Regions from separate parts of the Homo sapiens genome. Here all the other regions are linked to region 2. The links are contacts of gene promoters, found by promoter capture Hi-C in human tissues and cell types (Jung and others, 2019). All regions are on one chromosome and are shown on one strand. The core of a region is centred on a gene start or on the middle of the fragment in contact, and the rest is flanking DNA. Distances in the headings are between cores, read along the strand shown.

Region 1 (4,310 bases), core at 976-3,475, 51 kb after region 2:
GGTCTCCTTGTAGAGATTTTTCACGTCCCTGGTTAGCTGTATATCAAGGTATTTTATGCTTTTTTAGCAATTGTGAAATGGGACTGCATTCATGATTTGGCTCTTGGCTTGCCTGTTGTTGGTGTATAGGAATGTTATGATTTTTGTACATTAATTTTGTATGTTGATACTTTTTTGAAGTTGCTTATCAGCTTAAGGACCTTTTGGGCCAAGACTATGGGGTTTCTTCGATACAGGATTATATTGTCTACAAATAAGGATAGTTTGACTTCTTCTCTTCCTATTTGGATGCCCTTTATTTCCTTATCCTGCCTGATTGCTCTGGCCAAAACTTCCAAGACAATGTTGAACAAGAATGGTGAGAGAAGGAATCCCTGTCTGTTGCCAGTTTTCAAGGGAAATGCTTCCAGCTCCTCCCTGTTTAGTATGAGGATGACTGTGGGTTTGCCATAAATGGCTCCTATTATTTTGAAATGTGTTCCCTAGTTTCTTGAGGTTTTTTAACATAAAAAAATGAATTTTATCAAAAGCTTTTTTTGCACCTATTAACATGATCATGTGGGTATTGTTTTTAATTCTGTTTATGTGGTGTGAATCACATTTATTGATTTGCTTATGTTGAACCAACTTTGCATCCCAGGGATAAAGCCCACTTTACTGTGGTGAATAAGCTTTTGATATGTTGCTGGATTCAGTTTGCCAGTATTTTGTTGAGGATTTTTGCATCAATGTTCATCAAAGATATTGGCCAGAAGTTTTCTTTTATTGTTGTGTGTTTGCCAGGTTTTTGTATCAGAATGATGCTGGCCTCATAGGATGAGTTAGAGAGGAGTCCTTCCTCCTCAATTTTTTAAAATAGTTTCAGTAGGAATGGTACCAGCTCTTCTTTGTACATCTGGTATACAATTCAGCTGTGAATCTATCTGGTCCTGTTTTTTGTTTTGTTTTGTTTTGTTTTGTGTGTGTTTTTGTTGTTGTTGTTGTTGTTGTTGGTGGTGGTGGTGGTGGTGGTGGTGGTGGTGGTTGGTAGGCTATTTATTGCTGATTCAATTCCAGAACTCATCATTGGTCTGTTCAGGGATTCTTCAGTTTCTTTCTTTCTTGTTCAGTCTTCAGAGGGTGTATGTGCCCAGGAATTTATCAGTTTATTCTAGATTCCCTACTGTGTGTTCATAAGATTCTCTGATGGTTATTTATATTTCTGTCCAAAAACATTCTTTACAGAATTAGAAAAAAAAAAACTATCCTAAAATTCACGTGGAACTAAAAAAGAGTTCAAATTGCCAAAGCAATCCTAAACAAAAAGAACAAGCTGGAGGCATTACACTACCTGACTTCAAACTGTACTACAAGGCAGCAGTAACTAAATCAGCATGGTACTGGTGCAAAAACAGACACATAGACCAACGGAACAGGTTAGAGAACCCAAAAGTAAAGCTTCACACCTGCAACCAACTGATCTTTGACAAAGCCAACAATAACAAGCAGTGGGTAAAGGACTATTTATTCAATAAATGATGATGAGATAACTAGTTAGTCATATGCAAAAGATTGAAATAGGACCCCTTCCTTTTACCATATGTAATACAAAAATCTACTTAAGGTGAGTTAAAGACTTAAATGTGAAACCTAAAACTAATAAAAACCCTAGAAGAAAACATAGGAAATATCATTCTGGACATAGGCCCTGGTAAAACCTTCATGACAATTTCAAAAGCAATTGCAACAAAAGCAAACATTTACAAGTGCGGCCTAATTAAAGACCACTGCACAGCAAAAGAAACTATCAACAGAGTAAACTGACATCCTACAAAGTGGGAGTAAATATTTGCAAACTATGCATCTGATAAAGGTCTAATATTCAGAATCAAAAGTAACTTAAATCAATAAGCCAGAAAAAGAAACTACCTCATTAAAAAATGGACAGACACTTCTCAGTAGAAGACATCTATGTGGCCAATAAGCATATTAAAAGATTCTCCACACCACTAATCATTGGAGAAGTGCAAATTAATACCACAATGAGATATCATCTCATACAAGTCAGAAGGACAATTATTAAAAGGTCAAAAAATAATACATGCTGGCAAGGTTGCAGAGAAAAGGGAATGCATATACACTGCTGGTGGAAATGTAAATTAGTTCAGCCACTGTGAAAAGCAGCCTGGAGATTTCACAAGGAACTTAAAATAGAACTACCATTTGACCCAGCAATTTCATTACTGAATATATCCCCAGAGGATTATAAATCATTCTACCATAAAGACACAGACATGCATATGTTCATTGCAGCACTGTTCATAATAACAAATACATGGAGTAAACCTAAGTGCCTATCAAAGGTGGGCTGGATAAAGAAAATGTGGTACATATATACCATGGAATACTATGCAGCCAGCAACAAAAAATGAGATCGTGACCTTTGCTGCAACATGGATGGCGCTGGAATTAATGGATGAAGAGAATTAATGCAGGAAGAGAAAACCAAATAACACCTGTTCTCACTTATAAGTGGGAGCTAAACATTGAGTACACAGGAGCACAAAGAAGGGAGCAATAGACACCAGTGACTACTTGAGGGTGGAGGGTGTGAGGACGATGAGAATTGAAAAACTACCTGTCAGGTACTATGCTTATTATCTGGGTGACAAAATTATCCTAGTGTCAAACTCCAGTGACACACAATTTATTCATGTAACGAACTTGCCCAGCTATCCCCTGAACCAAAAATAAAAGTTGCAAAGAAATAGATAAAATAAAAATAAGAAAATAACATGAAGGGAGAAGTTTTTAAAATATACTAAAATGTCTGTTAAAATTTTGTAAAATATAGAAACATGGAAAATGCCCAAAATTAAATATCAAATGATATGAGAAGTATTTCATATTCTAGAAGTAGATGTTTGCTAATTGGTTAATTTATTGTATATGTTTCATGGTAAATACTTTTCTTCTCAATTTTAAAGGCCTAAAACATTAATGTATACTGCTATAGACTTTACAAATACTGTATACTTACCCTATGTTAAATTTATTACAAAATTTGTTCTTCAATAAGAAATTAACCTTGGCTTACTGTAACTTTTTTTACTCTATACACTTTTAATTTTAATTTTTTGATTCTTTTGTTATAAAATTTAGTTTAAAATGCAAGTATATTGTACAGCTGTACAGAAATTTTTTATATCCCTTATTTTATAACCTTTTCCTGTTTTTAAGTTTGTTATATATTATTTACATTTTAAATTTTTTAAATTAAATACAAAGGTACTAACACAATATTGGCCTAGGCCCTCACTGGGTGAGGATTATCAATATCACTGTCACGCATCTTTACGTCTTGTCCTACTGGAAGGTCTCCATGGGCATCAGCACACACGGAGCTGTCCTCTCCTACGATAACAATGCCTTCTTCTGGAATACCTACTGAAGGGCCTGCCTGAGGTCGTTTTACTCTTAATTCTTTTTTAAAAATAAGTCTACGGAGTACAATATAAAATAACACTAACAAGTATAATATAGCAAATACATAAACTAGTAGCATAGTCGTTTATCATCAAGTGTTATGTACTATACATAACTGTATGTGCAATACTTTTATACAAGCGGAAGCAAGTAGGTGTATTTACACCAGCATCACCACAAACATGTAAGTAATGTGTTACACCATGAAGTTACAAAGGCTACATTTTCACTAGACAATAGGAATTATTCAGCTCCATTGTAATCTTATGAGACTACCATCGTATATTCCATCTTTTATTGGCTAAAATGTCATTTTGTTGTGAATGACTATAGATAATTTGAATGAGACAAATTGTATCAATTTAAATACCCCCAACGTTAACTAAAACCACCAAAATGTTCATGTTGCTTTCTATGGTCATTTATGGACATGAATTGGAAGATTCAATAAAATATAAAGAAATAAAATTACTGCTCTTTAGAATGGAGGAATAAGACACGACCATCATGTCCTAGGCTAGAAAAAGACTTGTTAGTACATATCAACAGGAGAAAACCCACCACCCTCTTCTGAAATGGAATTCTAAAAATATGTCCTGAGTGACTATTCTTAGAAATATTCCTACAATTATGTGAAATCTTTACATGGCTTGGGATTTGAGAACATTTATGAATCTGTTTTACTGTTGTGTACAGTAACATGTCAATCTCACTATAATGACTCAAATGTGCTAGCTCTTCTGATACTAATTGCTATAAATGTCAGTGTGTTAGAAATATTTTAAAATAGAACCTACCACATTTATGTATTAAAAACATAAAACTAAGGCATAATTTAAAGAATA
Region 2 (4,232 bases), core at 800-3,299:
TTTGGTTTCTATGATTAGGACGTAAGATAATGGATGCAAAGTTGTTATATAAAAAATGTATTCTACAAATATGAGTGTTATTTCCTGGTGCACACATTAAAAAAATTGCCAAGTAGCCTTATGTCTTTGTTGAGTATACAACTCAAGTAATCTCCTTCAAAGTGAGCAGGGAATCTATGTTAGAAAACCCTGGCAGGAGCAAACCAGAGTTTTTATTTTACTTGGAATCAGAGTTCTGTTTTAGAAAAGTGTGGTGTCGTTTTTTTCTCTTAAATGATATGCAATTCACATGTTAGTTTATTTGTATATGCCTACTTATTAGGCATATACAAGATCGATAATGTTGTGGATCTTATTATTATTGCCCAAGGGGCTAATATTCACTTTTCAAAACTTATTACTCATCTAGTTCAGCAGCTCAAGATTTTGAAGCAAATCTGTTTTACATACATGTCTTAACCTTCAATCCCATTTAAAAAAAATAGTAAATTAGATGGTTAACCTTTTAGATTTGCATCCTCTTTAAAATAAAGCTTTACAGCAAATGCATTTTTCCTACAAATGTCTTCGAAAATGAGATTGAAGAGGATGTATCATCTAAATTTTTCTGTAAAGAGCTTGCCCCCGAAATAATTGGAACATGAACTGAAACCTCTAGATAGGAATTCCTGGACACAGCTGTCCATTATCTTTCGGGACTTTGGTGCACCTCACCCTTTACTGAACACAACTTTGTGTCAAACACTGGGCTAGGAGTGCTAGTTGTGATGTTTGAGGCAACAGTGGAATTTTTCTTAGGACTTAGTAGAACCAGTTCTTTTTTTTAATATGCATAGTCAGATTTTGATGATATTCAGTCTGCTCATATCTATAATAGTGATATTAACGTCTATTTCACTAGGATGGCTCTTGTGAAGATTAAATTAAATACTGTATGAAGAAGTGCCTTATACACAGTTATATAACCAGGATAATATCCAGATGGAATTCTCATTCTCTCTCTCTCTCTCTCTCTCACTCTCACTCACACACACACACACACACACACACACACACACACACATGCAATATCATCTTATAAATATCCTAGAATTGAATATCTCAGTAGCAGAGATAGTAGTTCTGTTTCTCAGAATTGCTTTTGCAAAATGGTGTTTTGGATTATAATTGTGCTATTTAATTTTTCTAATTAAAATTTCTAAATAGAGCCTATTAAATATTGGATGCTTATGATAGAACATTTGAAAATATAGAAAACCAAATGACCTACAAAACCTCTACCTTCCAGTACCATCATTCCGAGCTGATTACTGTTAACATTTTAATGGTTTTTGTCCGCTAGGTCTCCTTGATGAGTTTCACCTGAGGAAAAGGACTCCTTCAGGTGTGTGAACTTGAGCCACCAGGTCCAACCCCATTGGCAGGTGCTGGTACAGACGACTGAAATCAGAGGAAGATCAGAAATCTTCAAAACCCAGAGCAGCAGATGTCTTAACGGTCCCGAAACGTTCTTTGGTTCTTTGCAGTCAACATTCACGGGTTAAGAAGATTGCAATGCCATGACGGGCTGAGGTTGCATTTCTGGACGCTGCTTACTCCCGCTTCCTTCCATCTGTTTCAGGCAAATCATTATGCAGTTCTAATTAGAACAATCTTCTAAACACTCTCTCCAGAGCGACGTTCTTCCAAACACGGTTTAAGCGGCGAGAGACACCTGCCTAGGACCCTACGCGTCTGGAAGTCTCTCCCAGTGAATTGGGTCTCATCTCCTGCCGAGTACGCAAGTTCAATTATCGGCAGATTAGGTTTCTACTCTCCGTGCCCCGCCCCGCGCCATCCTGGGGAGCAGCGGGAATAAATGATCCGCCCCTGGCCAGTGCTCACCCGACTGACCAGAGCGCAGCCCGGTGACCGAAGCGCACGGGGCGATCGCGAGGCGCCCCCTCCCTCTCCCCGCGCCGCCTCCAGCGCGAGTGACGGCGCGCCCTCCGGGCTCCGGAGCGGCGGCGCCGAACAATCCCCGGCAGGGCTCGCCTCGCCGGTGACATCACTCCTGAAGATACTCCTCGCTCCCAGCGCCTGCCTTCCCCAGGCGTCCGTTCGTGTGCCCGTCTCCGCCTTTCCGCCTCGGAAGAGCGCTCATCACTGGCTGGGGACAGAGCCGGGCACCAAGGAGCGACAGGATCCCGAAGAGAGAGAGAGAAGGCAGCGAGGGAAGGAGGACCCCGGCAGGCAGCAGCATGAAATTCAGCCCAGCGCACTACCTGCTGCCTCTCCTGCCTGCGCTGGTCCTCAGCACCAGGTGAGTCCAGGAGCGTGAGTGACCTGAGGCCAGGGGCGCTGCCGGGGCGAGGTTGGTCCTACTGTGGGTCACCAGTGGGGGCCAAGGCACTTCAGCTGTTTGCATCTCCCGCCTAAGCAAGAGGGACGCTGTATGGTTTGGGCTCTGAAATCCTTCTGAGAGAGCAGAGCCCTTTCCTAGTTATCCCAGCCCCCTGGAGAAAGTCTTAGGATTGCTCTCAGTGAGGGATCAAAAGCTTTCTCTTCCGAAGGAGAGAAAAGACATTTTACCCTCCGGTCCTATTAGTAGCCAAAAGGTAACACGCGGTAAAAGAACAAAATAAAGAACGGAAATAGGCAAGGAGGGAATTGCCACCAGGCAGTGTCTTTACATTGGAGTTGTCTTAATAACCATAGAGCTTCTCCCTTCCCCCAAGTGTGCCTGATTTAAGGAAGAGGAAACCAGAGAAAACAGATTAATCCTGGAAGATGCTAAGACTTGTACAAAAGTTCCTGGACTCCTGAAATGGCATGTTTCAACGTCTTGGATAAGCTTAGTGATAGGCGTTTTCTTTTGACTGTCTTGTGAACAGGTCTAATTAAAGAGCACAGAAGGCGATTAAAAGTTAGAAGACACTCTCAGAGTGCTGATGCAGAGACCCTAGTCAGAAACAATTAAGTACTGTACTCCATCACTGGCCATGGATGGGACTTTAAGCCCCATTACAGAGGAGCTATTTTTGGTGGAGATTTAAAATGCAGAGATTGAGAAGAGTTTTGTGACTCCCCACTGTTGATCAAGTCCCAAAGTTGTGATGGGTTTGCTTTTTTCTTCCACAAGCGCAGCACAAAGGTGGACTGTTTAGTTGCCCAGGACTGTCTTTATTCTGCATGCCCTTAGCATCATATTGGCAGCAACCTCTTTCCCTTGGCTACTATAAAATAAAATAACCCACACAGGATGAAGATCCTTTCAAGTCTACGTGAATAGAAACATTATTTGATTGTGCATCTGATGGCAAATAAAGTAGGGATATAGGGTTGTTTCTAATTCTGAAATGGAAAAGGATGAAGAAAACTTACTCTGTCTTACAAATCAAGGCTGTAAAATTCTTGATTCCGTTCCTAATCTACACACCTTCTTTCAGGCCTGTGTAACCAAACTTTCCTTTTAGTGTAGAGACTATTTCATTTACCCTCAATAATTGATAAATTTAGTCTTTCCTTGCAAACAAAGCCCAGGTGACTTTCCCAGATTAAAATGAAATGTAAGTTTGATTCTTCATTTTCTGTAAGGTTTGCTTGTCACTTCAGCTCATAAAGTGCAGATGGTTTTAAAGAAAACCAGTTTGCTTCCCAGTATTATAATTAGTTGCTCTAAATACAGAGCCCATTTTAATATTTGTGGTTAGCTCTCAACAGTTCAATACAAATTATGCATCACAGTTATTCTTTAAATTCTTGCCATTCACTCTTATGTTGTGATTTAGTCTTCTAGAGAAAGGAAATTTTCTAACTTTGGACACTTAAGTAGATGACAGTCAACACATGCATAAATAATAGGAAATATTTAAACAATAGAAATCCAGCCCACAGTGATTTTAGACTGTGAACATCTCTAGAGTTCCAAAAGTACATTTGCTTTTTAAGGATACTATAATTAAATTGAATGAAAAAGCTCTATAGTCTCTAGCGTCCAAAGATTTAATGTTCGATATCTAATACAGGGTCAAAAAGCCATTATCTTTTCCTTTCATGAAAGTGTTGATTTTGATAGGGATAAATTTCTTTAAAAATAGTTAACACACTTATTACAACAAAAACTGGAATAATCATCTATTTCACTTTAGCTTTGAAACTTCTGCAATGCTTGTGGTATGTGAAAACTATGGTTATTAAATTTTACCAGAAGAGAATGCTGGGCTTGAAAAAGATGAAATATTTATAATAAG
Region 3 (4,397 bases), core at 963-3,462, 57 kb before region 2:
CAAGGGCTGTGGGAAACTGCCCTTGTTACAAGCAAGAAACTGCATGCAAAAACTGCATGCAAAAATCAATACAAGGGGTCTTCAACAAGTTCGTGGAATATGTGCCTTATGAAAAAACTGCATGAATTTTATTTTTTTTACTTCGATATAAACTCACACTAATTTGGTCTATCTGAAGAGGGTCTAGTTTGAGGCACTAAGAAGGATTAGACATTAGTTTAAAAAGAGACTTTATCGGAGTGTATTAGTCCATTTTCACACTGCTGATAAAGACATACCTGAGACTGGGTAATTTATAAAGAAAATGAGGTTTAATGGACTCACAGTTCCACACAGGAGCTTCAGGATCAAGCTCCTGAGGTACTTCTTCAAATAATGTAATAGGAGATAGAACATGACTCTAACAGTATGATCCTGAAGACAAAGCACAGTCAAAGCAATGGCTACCAAGAGATGGAAATAATCCAGTAAAAGCAAGAGCAGATGAGTCAAGAACAAAGGTAATGGCAACGGTTTTGGGAGAATGCTCAAGGCATTGTGCTTACTCACAATCACGCTACAAGGTGAAAGGCACATCTTACATAGCGGTGGACAAGAGACAATCAGAGAGATCTGAAAGCAGAAATCCCTTATAAAAACATCAGATCTCATGAGATTAATCCACTACCAGGAAAACAGTATGGGGGAAACTGCCGTCATGATTCAATTATCTCCCACCACGTTCCTCCCACAACACATGGGAATTATGGGAGGTACACTTCAAGATGAGATTTGGGTGGGGACACACAGCAAAACCATATCACATGTTTGTGTTGCTCACACAAATCCTTTAAAACAGAAGCAAGAGCATACATAAAATTCATGGTGAAGCTTGGATGGAAGAATGGTGAAATCACTGATGCTTTACAAAAAGTGTATAAGGATAATGGCCCAATTAAATCAGCAGTTTACAAATGAATAACTCATTTTAAGAAGGGAGAAGACCATGTCGAAGATGAAGCCCATAGCATCAGATCATCCACATCAGTTTTCAAGGACAAAAAAATCTTGTTTATGCCCTAATTGTAGAGGACCAATGACTAATGGCACAAATCAGTTTCAGACAAGGGAAGTTTCAGTGGCAAATTTCAATAAGTGGGATCAAGCTCCTGAAGTACTTCTTCAAATAATGTAATAGGAGATAGAACATGACTCTAACAGTATGATCCTGAAGACAAAGCACAGTCAAAGCAATGGCTACCAAGAGATGGAAATAATCCAGTAAAAGCAAGAGCAGATGAGTCAAGAACAAAGGTAATGGCAACGGTTTTGGGAGAATGCTCAAGGCATTGTGCTTACTGATTTTCTGGAGGGCCAAAGAACAATAACATCTGTTTATGAGAGTTTTTGAGAAAGAGAAAGCTTTAGCAGAAAAACATCCAGGAAAGCTTTAGTCTTTCTCCAGTACAACAATGTTCCTACTCATTAATCTCTCATCAAACAGAGGCAATTTGGAGAGATTTTTGATGAGAAATCATTAAGCTTCTGCCTTAAGTTCTGATTTGGTTCTGACTCCTTTTCATTTCCTAATCTTAAAAAAGTCTTTAAAGGGCTTCCATTTCTCTTCCGTTAGTAATGTAAAAAATATAGTATTAACATGTTTAAATTCCCAGGGCCCTCAGCTCTTTAGGGCCAGACTAAATGGCTGTTATCATCACTTACAAATGTGTCTTGATCTTATGGAGATTATGTTGAAAATTGTTTTTATTTTATTTAAAATATTTATTTTACTTAATTGTTTTCATTCCAATTTTCCTTGAAATCCACTTGAGTGTATGTATACGTACATAAAATATTACAAGAATAATTCAGCACCCCTCCTCAACAATGACATACTTTTCTTTCCCATACCTTTCTTACCCATACCTTGTCTTTATTAGTTTGCTATATGTGTATTCATCTGAATGTGTTATATATAATTACTTCATATATTTATCTTTTTTCCAGATGAACTATTATATGATGTATGTTTTTGTAGTCTGCTCTTTTCTTAAATAATTTTCTGAGTTTAATTATCTTAATACATTTTATCCATGTTAATTGGTTGTTAATCCGTCTGGAATTGTTATTTGTGGATAGTAAATATAAGAGTTACATTATTTTTATGACTGATTTTCTCAAACTATTAAATTTTAATAACTGTATTTGTTTTCCTTTGATAGGTATTATTTCTCTACAGTATATAATGCTAGCCATATCATATAGTATACCCGTATCTACAAGAGTATTTTTAAGAACTCCCTGTTGTATTGATTTCTCCGTCTCAGAGATGGTAATTTTTCAATTCACGTAGCTTTAGAATAAATCTCAATATTGACAAACCAAAGTGACTCACCTTGATTTTCTTCTAAACTGTCCCCAAGAACTAGGAAAATAGTTCCTAGGAAGACAATAATTGCATCTTCTGTAATGCCTCTGATTGATATTTATATATTTCTCCAAAATATTCACCCATATGTTAAATTTATTTCTAAGGATTGCATTATTTTTCATTGTTATTATAAACAATACATTTTATATTTCTTTTTTTTTGGTTTTTACTAATATAAAGTATGTAGTTGATCTGTATGTTAATTTCACACATAGAAACTTTAAGAACTCAATAATGAAATCTAATCACTTTTCTATAGATTTTCTTATGCTATGCTATCATAGCTTCTTCACATACAGTTTTACTTGTTTTCCAATCTTTAGATATTTTGGCTCTTTTCTTGTATTACTGACCCTGGTTACATCTTTGATTCATTGTTGTATTGAACAGGTGATATTGGGCTTTCTCTTTTTGTTCCTGATCTAAAAGTGAAAGTTTTGACTCTGTAGTTTGCATTTTTTTAAGATAATTCTTATCAAGTTAAGGTAGTTTCCTTTTCCTAAAGGTATTTATTATTAGTCTGAATTGATTTAAAGTTTTTAAGTATGTATTTTACTAAATTTTTATTGAATAACAAAATGCATGTAACCACATTCATGCAATCATCACCTAGATCAAGAAACAGAACATTTAACAATACCCACAAAAGAACCCCTTGTACTCTCTTTCACTCACTTTATCTTTCCTTTCCCTCCTATAAAATAAAAGATGACTATTGTAATTTTCTAAAATCATAAATCAATAATGCCTGTTTTTAATCTTTATATAAACGTTAACAATATAGTAAATGTTTACTTTGTTATATAAATATTACTATTAAATATATTTAATAATATATTAAATATATAATTAATATATAATATATAAATAGGAACATGCCAGATGTACTCTTTTGTTTTAGATATCTAGTGCTCAGAATATATTTATGATAGCCACGTTGTTATGTGTAGTTGTAATTATTCTAATTTCATTGATAAATAATATTCATTGTTTTAAATACTATAAATTTATCCATTCTAGTGCTGATGGATGTTTGTGATTTTCTGATTTTGTATATCATGAATAGTATTTCTCTGAATATTCATGTACTTGTATTGTTGAGAACATGTGTACACTTATATTGGACACATTTCTTTTTTCTTTTTTTTCTTTGGTTTTGAGATAGAGTCTTGCTCTTGTAACCCAGCCTGTAGTGCAATGGTGTGATCATGGCTCACTTTAGCCTCAACCTCCTGGACTCAAGTGATTCTGCTGCCTCAGCCTCCCAAGTAGCCAGGAGTACAGATGAGTGCCACCATGCCCCAATAATCAATATAGTCCTAAGAATGAAAATGTTGAAACATAAATTATGCATATGCTCAGCTTCAGTAAATATTGCCAAATAATTTTTCCAAATGGTTGCACCAACTTACTCATCCATCAGCTCTCTATGAGAGTAAAGATTGCTATATATTTTCACAAAAGTTAGTATCTACATCTGCCCAGTTATGACATTTACTGAAGATTCCTTATGCCTAAGTAATGCTTCCAGGGGAAAAGTGAGTTCAGATATCAGTTGATTTCTGTGGTACAACTCTCTCTAGACTCTAGCTCTTAGTATTTAAACTTAGACATTCAACAGCTCTCTGATTCTGTTAAACAGAGGAGTTTAGTCTTTTATCTGGCTTTTCTAGTTGTCTACTCTCCATTCTGTGTGAAAGTGGATATGGCATGTTGGATTTTATTCAATTATTTATGTAAATATATTTAAAAGAGCATGTGATTTTTCTTCCTTAATCTAGAGTTTCTAATGCTAAAATATATTTTTATTACTTCAATAAACCCATTTTGATTATTATTAATTTTTTTTTGAGGTGGAGTCTCGCTCTGTCATCAGGCTGGAGTGTAGTGGTGTGATCTTGGCTCACTGCAACCTCCAACTCCCTGGTTCAATCGATACTCCTGTCTCACTGTCTCAGCCTCCCGAGCAGCTGGGATTACAGGCACC

What was found. Contacts are between HindIII fragments. The study calls those that stand out against the background at their distance.
Region 1: a fragment that was not itself captured here is called in contact with the fragment with the promoter of LUZP2 in region 2 in 2 of the 25 tissues and cell types used here (dorsolateral prefrontal cortex and spleen).
Region 3: a fragment that was not itself captured here is called in contact with the fragment with the promoter of LUZP2 in region 2 in 3 of the 25 tissues and cell types used here (adrenal gland, aorta and stomach).

The regions. Positions count from the first base shown.
Region 1 is chr11:24,545,974-24,550,283 of GRCh38, forward strand. All of the region lies in intron 1 of LUZP2 (leucine zipper protein 2), which reads left to right. Among named protein-coding and RNA genes, the nearest start is that of LUZP2, 51 kb to the left of the region's middle. The HindIII fragment of the contact is 8,095 bases long and covers 1-4,310 here.
Region 2 is chr11:24,495,004-24,499,235 of GRCh38, forward strand. LUZP2 (leucine zipper protein 2) reads left to right here and starts at 2,050. Exons shown (of 12, transcript NM_001009909.4): 1 at 2,050-2,302. The coding sequence starts at 2,241. The HindIII fragment of the contact is 10,753 bases long and covers 1-4,232 here.
Region 3 is chr11:24,438,060-24,442,456 of GRCh38, forward strand. No RefSeq gene overlaps it. Among named protein-coding and RNA genes, the nearest start is that of LUZP2, 57 kb to the right of the region's middle. The HindIII fragment of the contact is 6,863 bases long and covers 1-4,397 here.